2 separate regions of the Homo sapiens genome follow, and region 1 is linked to region 2. Evidence: promoter capture Hi-C in human tissues and cell types (Jung and others, 2019). All regions are on one chromosome and are shown on one strand. Each heading gives the region's core, a stretch centred on a gene start or on the middle of the fragment in contact. The rest is flanking DNA. Distances are from core to core; before and after follow the strand shown. Region 1 has its middle 8.5 kb from the start of MIR4315-2. Region 2 holds the start of RGS9 (regulator of G protein signaling 9).

What was found. The method cuts DNA at HindIII sites, captures the fragments that hold promoters and counts their contacts. A contact is called where the count stands out against the background at its distance.
Region 1: a fragment that was not itself captured here is called in contact with the fragment with the promoter of RGS9 in region 2 in 1 of the 25 tissues and cell types used here (hippocampus).

Annotation. Positions count from the first base shown.
Region 1 is chr17:64,828,585-64,832,688 of GRCh38, forward strand. It overlaps the pseudogene PLEKHM1P1. Among named protein-coding and RNA genes, the nearest start is that of MIR4315-2, 8.5 kb to the left of the region's middle. The HindIII fragment of the contact is 4,114 bases long and covers 1-3,740 here.
Region 2 is chr17:65,136,088-65,140,076 of GRCh38, forward strand. RGS9 (regulator of G protein signaling 9) reads left to right here and starts at 1,283. Exons shown (of 19, transcript NM_003835.4): 1 at 1,283-1,510. The coding sequence starts at 1,454. RefSeq lists a silencer at 973-1,472. The HindIII fragment of the contact is 16,688 bases long and covers 1-3,989 here.

The sequences.
Region 1 (4,104 bases), core at 434-2,933, 310 kb before region 2:
GATGCTGCTAAGGCACCAGCCCCAAAGCTACCTGACTTCCTACCTCTCCAAGAGAACAGAGAGCTCTATCTGGAGTACCCAAGATAGCCCAGGAGGGTGCAAAGGGCTGTCCAAGAAAAGGTCCTAGGGGGCTCCAGTGAACTGCTCACAAATAATTACATTTAGAATATCCCAGAAAATGGTAAGTGTTCAGATACATGTAAGTTACCAATTTACCCCCATTACTGAAACAACAAACCAGTGCCTGGGAATATCTGTTTCCCACCCATTCAGTGCTTTGGCCAGACTGTGACCAAATCATGGCCTAAGGGCAGAGGGCTGAAGGGCTGAATGGAAATCCTTGGTCTTCAGGTTACTGATCTTAAATTCCCACTGCTTTTCATAAATCTCCATCTTATCACCAATAAGGTGATCTAGAAAAGACAGGGTCTCCTCAGAGCCTGCTTGTGCTATAACTTTTTCTCAACCTGGTCTCTCTTGCAGGACAGTGCCCATTCATTTCGAAGTGAGCCAAGCCGATGATACAACTGTCCCCTGCAGCCCTTCCCCGCCCTTGATCCTCCCTCACCCACCTACCGGGATGGCAGCCTGGGGGTCCAGTCCATTCTCCACCACTGAAAGCATCTCCACTCACGCAGCTGCTCCCTCAGAGAATCACATGACACCTGAAGAGACAGATGGCAGCCAGATGAATGGGCAGGGAACTTCCCCCCAGCCAGAGTCCATTCCCAGCAAGCAGCAGGAGGTCAGCCTCTCTTACTCAAACTGCAACCAAAAAGGCCTTTGAAGAACACAAAAGTAAAAACTGATAATAGATTTGAAGGAAAGAAACAAGGAAGGAAAGCCCAGGGGGCTCAGTCATTGGGAGGCAAGGAGTCCTGGGTGCCAGGGGTGGGTCCACCCCAAGGAGTAGGTGGTAAGGGCGCTTCACATCAAATGCTGCCCAGAAAGCCAAGGCCCTGTAGGATCGAAACCTGTAGGCAGGGAATGACAGGCTGATTCAGATACGGAGCTGCAGGTTCGAGGGGGAGGCTGCAGCTGAAGGTGGCAGGAACCCACTGGGACCAGGAAGCAGGGGCTCACAGGCTCACACATCACATTCAGGGGCTGGGTCCTGCAACACCCTGCCCCCACCCCTCACTCCTGTCCCAGTCCAACATCTGCCAGCTCGGCAGTAAAAAGTACCACTGGAACGGCTTCAAAAGGGGAGGGCTCCCTTGCTACACTTCTGCTCCTCATTTGGGCTTCGAGGGTCTGGCTTGAGCAGCACAGACAGGGACGTGTCTAACCGGGATGACCATGAGGTCTCATCGCAGTTTGCCACTAACCAGGGAGACATGCACAGACCTCTCAGAAGGAGAATGTGTAAAATGCCTGTCACGGGGCCTGATATGTGCCTGTACCTGATATGTTGTACCTGGCATCTGTCATCCCAGTGGATGTGGCCACCTAAACCTACAGACCAAGAATGTCATCGCCTAAATGAGTATGCAGGAAGAGTTGAAGTCAGTGAGTGGTTAAATCCCTCAGGGCTGCCAGCTTCCTCCTGGGAGTGGGTGGGGTGGGGTGGGGTGGGGTGGGTGGGGTGGGGACTTTAGCCTGAGCCTGAGGGGGCTGCTGACTGGCTTGGCCCCACCACAGCAACTTGGACAGACCTGGGCCAGGCAGGCACATTCACTCGTAAACAAATCTCTAGCCAACTCCTGGCTGAGCATCAGGGGAACGCCGGGAAAGGTGATGTCTGTCTGTCTCAGCTCTCAAACAATCACCGCACAAAGAAGTTAACAAAACCAAGAAAAGTTAAATGGGCTCAGTTCTCTTTACATATATTGCCTAATTTATGTTCCTCCTAAGGACCCTAGGAGTGCTGTTTTATTGTCTCCACCTGACAGATAAGGAAATGGCAGCTGACCCAGGTCAAGGAAGTTCCTGAGGTCCCAGGGCTGATAAGCGGCCTGACTCCACCACCAGCCCCCAGGAGGAAGCCAACCCCAGCCCTAGGAAAACCCGATTCCTAAGTGAGTGCTGTAAACCAAAAATAAAATTCTAAGCTCCCCAACTGCCTGAATGGGCCCCCCTTGGCCAAAGGGATTTCAAAAAAACTGAAAACTGAGTTCAGGCCATGACAGGAAGTGGGGCGTGGGCCATGCCTCATCCTAGCCTCTCCCTTTTGGAGCTTAGACACAACTGACCAGCATTAACATTGAAACAGACTCCTAAGACTGACAGAACAGACTCTCAGCAATTAAGACACCAACTCCAACCTGACTGGTCTAACATCACATGGGAGATAACAAGCCCTAAGGAAATCAAAGTATCTTACCCCCAAGTATATTTTTGACATAGTTTGGAATGGCCCTGCAAAGCCATCTCTTGTTGGGAAAATCTATGTCCTGCAGAGATTCCCTTCCCTTTCTAGGCCTTTTCCTGATTTAGAGGAGATTTAACTAAGAGTCTGACACCTTAGAGACATTTACCATCTATTCTCTTGAAGGCTTCATCTACGTAACATGAACCTTGGCTTTCACAACCCACCTTATCTTAAACCCAAGCTTTTCTTCTGCTGACTTTTAACTCTTTAGGCAAAGTTTAACTTTTTCAGCCAATTGCCAATCAGGAAATCTTTTAATCCACCTTACCCTGTCCCCACCAATGTATACCTTACATATATTAATTTATGTCTTTGCCTGTAACTTCTGCCTGTAACTTGGATAAAAATCAAGCTGTACCCCAATCACCTTGGGGACATGTTCTCAGGACCTCCCAGGACTATGTCACAGGTCATGGCCCTCACATTTGGCTCAGAAGAAACCTCTTCGAATATTTAACAGAGTTTGGCTTTTTCATCAACAGTGCCATCACCTCAGAGCTAGGATTCCAGGGGTGGTCTGGGAAGATCCTTTCGCTGGGGGCCGGGAACAGGGGGTGCAGGGGAACATTAAGGCCAGTGTGGCAGGAAAGGTTTCCTGGACAGCCCTGGAGCAGCATGAGGTTTGGAAAGCAGACAGGCAGGCTGGCCCTAAATGGTGGAAGGTGCTCTGATTGGATCTCTGGCTTCTGGGGATAGCAGAGGGCAAACAGGACACAGGGAGTCAGGACCCAGAGCCAACCTCCCTAAGTCAGGTCCCTCAGGAGGAAGCAGGCATGTATGGAGGATGGTTCCTGCAGACCCAGTAACAGGCCGGGTGCTGCAGATGGCCAGAAGAGCCCTCAGTCCTGACTACAGCCCCATCTGACTGCCTCACCCTTCACCATAGTCTGCTCCCAGCTACCCAGGGATTCTCAGAGCCCTCCTCCGGAGACCAGTTCCACATTCTGGCCACGGGGTGACAGGAAAAGGGGGCTGTATGCTGCAGTGACTCTGCATCTAGGGTCACTTCCAGAAACAGGCCTGGTCTTGAGGTCAGGCTCCATCAAGGCTACCCTTTTGCAGCTCAGCAGGCCACGTCCAGCTTCTCTGGCTCCGAAACCCTGGGCTCCAATCCCAATCCACAATTTCCAGTGGCCTGAGGCCCTCAGGCCCACCCTTCTAGAGAGAGCCCGAAGCCCCAAAGTTGCCCTTCCCTTAACCAGCTACAGGGCCGGGACCCTAAGGACTTAGACCCAATAATTTGAATTATAGCCCAGGCCCATTAAGACCTCATTAACTAATTAGCTGAGAGTGATAGAGTATTCACAGAGTATTCACTGGGAGGAGCAGGCCATTGGTAAGTCAGTGCTCTGGCCAAGTAACAGTATGCTAAGAAAACAAAATAGGCCAGGTGCCATGGCCCACACCTGTAATCCCAGCACTTTGGGAGGCCGAGGCAGGAGGTTCACTTGAGGTCAGGAGTTTGAGACCAGCCTGGCCAACATGGTGAAACCCTGTCTCTAATTAAAAAAAAAACAAAAATTAGCCAGGCATGGTGGCCCATGCCTGTAATACCAGCTACTGGTATTACCAGCTACCATACCGGCTGAGGCAGGAGAACCACTTGAACCCAGGAGGCGGAGGTTGCAGTGAGTTGAGATCGTGCCACTGCACTCCAGCCGGGGCAGCAAAGCAAGAATAAATAAATAAATAAATAATTTATGTCTCAAATAAATAAATAAATAATAAACTGA
Region 2 (3,989 bases), core at 33-2,532:
ATGTTTAAGAGAAAGTGCTTTATATAACAAAGCAGAAAGGCTCTTGATAATAACTTAGAGGCTTCATCCTTGCATTTTTCTCAAGATGAAAACGCTAACATAATGAGCTGTCAAGGTAGGTTCATCAATTGTAACAAATGGGCCACTCCAGTGGAGGATGTTGATCATGGGGGACGCTGTGCGTGCGTGGGGAGAGGGGATATATGACGTGTCCCTATACCTTCCGCTCAATTGTGCTGTGAACCTAAAACTGCTCTAAGAAATAAAGTCTATTAAAACAAGCAAACCAGCCAGCTGCAGTGGCTCACTCCTGTAATTCCAGCACTTTGGGAGGCCGAGGTGGGTAGATCGATTGAGCCCAGGAGTTTGTGAAACTCCCTCTCCACAAACAATTTTTGTAAAAATTAGCGGGGTGTGGTGGCACGTGCCTGTAGCCCCAGCTACTGGGGAGGCTGAGGTGGGAGGATTGTTTGAGCCTGGGAGGTTGTAGCTGCAATGAGCCATGATTACGCCACTGCACTCCAGCCTGGGTGACAGAGCAAGACCCTGTCTCAAAAAAAAAGTTAAACAACAACAAACCCAACAACCAACTAACCGAAACACTAAGAATCAGAGAAGTAAAATATAATTCGCTTCATCCAGACAGCTAGCCCGGTGAGGACTACAACCTTCCTCTCTTCCTTCTTCACTTCTTTGCTCTCTCTTTTTAAACCCACATCTTAGCAATTCCTCTGCTATTGGGTCATTAAATCGCCACCTCTAATTTTTTTTTCTAAGCATTTATTGAGGGCCAAGCACTGTGTTACACATCTCCTCATTAAAATGGTATAGCAACCTTTTCTGGTCGATATTATGATCCCATTTTTCAATTTTTACTTTTGAGTGAAGGACATTGATTCTTAGAGATTGTAAGGAACTTGCCCAAGGCTGCCGGCTGGTTAGTGGCAGAGCTGGGATGGGAAAGTCCGTATTTTCCACCGCGCTGTATTAGTGAGGGCTCTTTGTGTCACTTCTGTGCATAACTCCGCCCCAAGTTAAAAGGCTCGCTGCTCTCGACAGGTCCTCCTCCTCCTCCCGCTAGGTCCTCCTCCTCCTCCCGCCAGGTCCTCCTCCTCCTTCTCCTCCCGGGGCCCTGCCCTGCGGGTCTCACCTGCTGCTCCGCGGGGTCCCGGCGGGGGCCGGATAGCGCCCCCTGGCGGCAGGTGGGCGCCCGCGCAGCGCATGCTAATGAGCCCGCGGCGCCGCTCGCGGATTGGCTGGCGCGGATTCCAGCTGCTTTCCAAGTCAGCGGCGCCTAGTGAGAGTCAGGGGGGCCCGGCCCGCGCCCTCCCCGCCCAGCCGCCTCCCCGTCGACGCCCAGGGCTGGGGCGAGCCAGGCTGCCTTTCGAACTTGGGGGGCTTCTCCTCTTGTCTCCCACTGGTGCTCTGGCTGTGAATCCATCCAGGGGCCAGGATGACAATCCGACACCAAGGCCAGCAGTACAGGCCGAGGATGGCATTTCTCCAAAAGGTAACCCTGGCCCCTCACCTGGACCCTGGGAGGAGGGCGGGGGACCGCATCTGCGAAGCGTCCGAGGACAAGAGGGGCAGGAGTGGAGAGCACCCCTTTGGGTCGATTTGTGCTGCTCGATTTTATTAAGTGACTTCTTTGCTGTGTGTGTCGATATTGATGGCTATAATAATTAGGTTTTCGTGTGCCCTGCCTGTAGTGGAGAATCTGAAGCCAGCGCTGATGGTCTGCGGGAGGTGAAAACAACCTGTTACTCGGGAGAGGCAGGTTCAGTTCAGGCTGTGGCAGATTTGAGACAGCCTGCTGATATTGTTGTAAGACGACCAGATGTGACATTGCCATTTTTGCCTTTTTTTTCTGATCCCAAACTGCACTATTTTAAAGTGTGTGTGTGTGTACACATAGACCATGAAAACGGGGTGATTTGTAGGATAAAGGGCCACCCCATTTACAATGCCCTGAGAGCCCTCATTTGAGTGTGTCTATCTGTGCATCTCCTGCTGTCTGCGCTGGCGGCAGAAGTCCCAACCTTTTCGCTTCCCTTGCGAATGCTTTCCCAGACAAAGTGACCGGGCACAGGGTGTGCACACAGGATGGACATGTGGGAGGTGGAATGCACCTGTGGGGTGATGTGTTTGGGGACAAAGTGGTTCATTTAGTTCTGAGCTTCTGGTATAATCACTGTCCGATGAGATCTACAGAGGATTAGGTCCCGGGTCACATCTTTGTCCTTCCTCCCACCCGTAGCCACTTTTCACAGCGTAGTGTCCATCTTCTTAGGCTTATCTTGTTGAGTAGAATTAGTTGAATGTTTTGTGACAAGCTGAGCTCTCCCTGAGCCCCTGGAGCTCAGCAAATTTGTATAGTCAGTGACCGCTGTCCTGATTTGCCCAGGACTTTCAATGCTAAAACCTGGACAGTCCTGGGGACCCCGAGACGGTCGCATTTGGTCCACCTGTTTCAAGATGCTCGTGCTCATCTTCCGGGTAGCAGAGGTGTGGGTATCATCTGTAAAGCAGACAGGCTGAATGTTGTCTCACTCAGAAAGAACCCTGAGAGCCTGTATTGCAGATACCAGTTACTAAAAGCAGAAGAAACTGCCTAAGTCGGCTATCTCAAAGCCACACATCATCTTCCAGGATTTATCCTAGGACTGTCTCCTCCCAGGCAGGACAGCTCTGGCTTGGGGGCTCAGAGGGTAATTGTCAAGAGATAAATTCAGTTTGTTTATTGAATCTCTGGCATTCTTTTCCATCATGACTCTTCTCTGGTAGATTCTCCTCTCCTTACCTTGGTCTTCTGACTAGTGTCTTGGTCTCTAGTTTCTCTCCTCCACCCCAGGCTTCCCTCCTCCTCCCCAGCCACCCCTCCTCCACCCCAGCATCCCCTCCTCCACCCCAGCATCCCCTCCTCCACCCAAACTCTCCCTCCTCCACCTTAGTCTCCCTTCCTCCACCCTAACCTCTCCCTCCTCCATTCCAGCTCCCCTCCTCCACCCCAGCTCTCCCCCCTCCACCCCACCTTTCCCTCCTCCACCCCAGGTCCTCTTCCTCCACCCTGTCTTCCCCTTCCTCTACCCCATCCTCCTCCTCCTCCCCAGCCTTCTCCTCCTCCATCCTAACTTACCTCTCCTCTACCCTAACCTCCCCCTCCTGCATCCCAGCTCCCCATCTTCCACCCCGGTCTCCCCTCCTCCATGACAGCTTTCCTACACACACTGTTTTTTTCCCCCAAATCAATGGTGACCTCCTTGACCTGAAACGCTCCACTGGCTTCCCACATTCCCAGCATAAAGTCCAACCTTCCCCTGAGCAGCCTGGTTACCCAGGATTCCGCTCCCACCATCTTCCTGGCTTTGCCTCCTGCCTGCCTTCCACACCTGCCCTCTGGGAAACAACAAAGCAGCCACAGGCACCCCTGGGCTCCTGCCTCAAACACTTCCTTCCTTTTTAGGAACCCGGTGCCCTTTCATGCCTCAGGGTCCGTCTGCTGGGAAAGTCCTTTCTCCCCCTCTCGCTTGCCAAGCTCCACTTCTCTTCCCATGCCCAGCTCAGTCACCCCTCGGCTGTGAAGGCTGGTTCTCCTAATGCCCCTGGGCAGGACAGCTCCCTTCTCTGTGCACTACAGACCTTGCCACACCTCCAGCATTGCTCTTTCCCTAGACCTTGTGCTGGCAAGGGCCCTGTCTATGTATCCTCTATATCTATGTATGTATTGGTCATGTCACAGAGCTCCTTGGAGCAGCAGACAGAATAAAGGTCTGCAGAACAGGTCTCAAGAGCCCATGCCAGGCGATCCTTAATGAAGAACCAGCTACATTCGATGTTCAGCTTTCTGGAGAAGGGCCTGGAACAAAAAAATGTGGACCTGGGTGCAACTGTCACTCATCACTCGTTCCATGCATGTGATGAAGTACACGGTGTCCATGATGGTGTGGAGGGGTGGGCATTATGTGCATTATCTCATCTATTTCATTAGC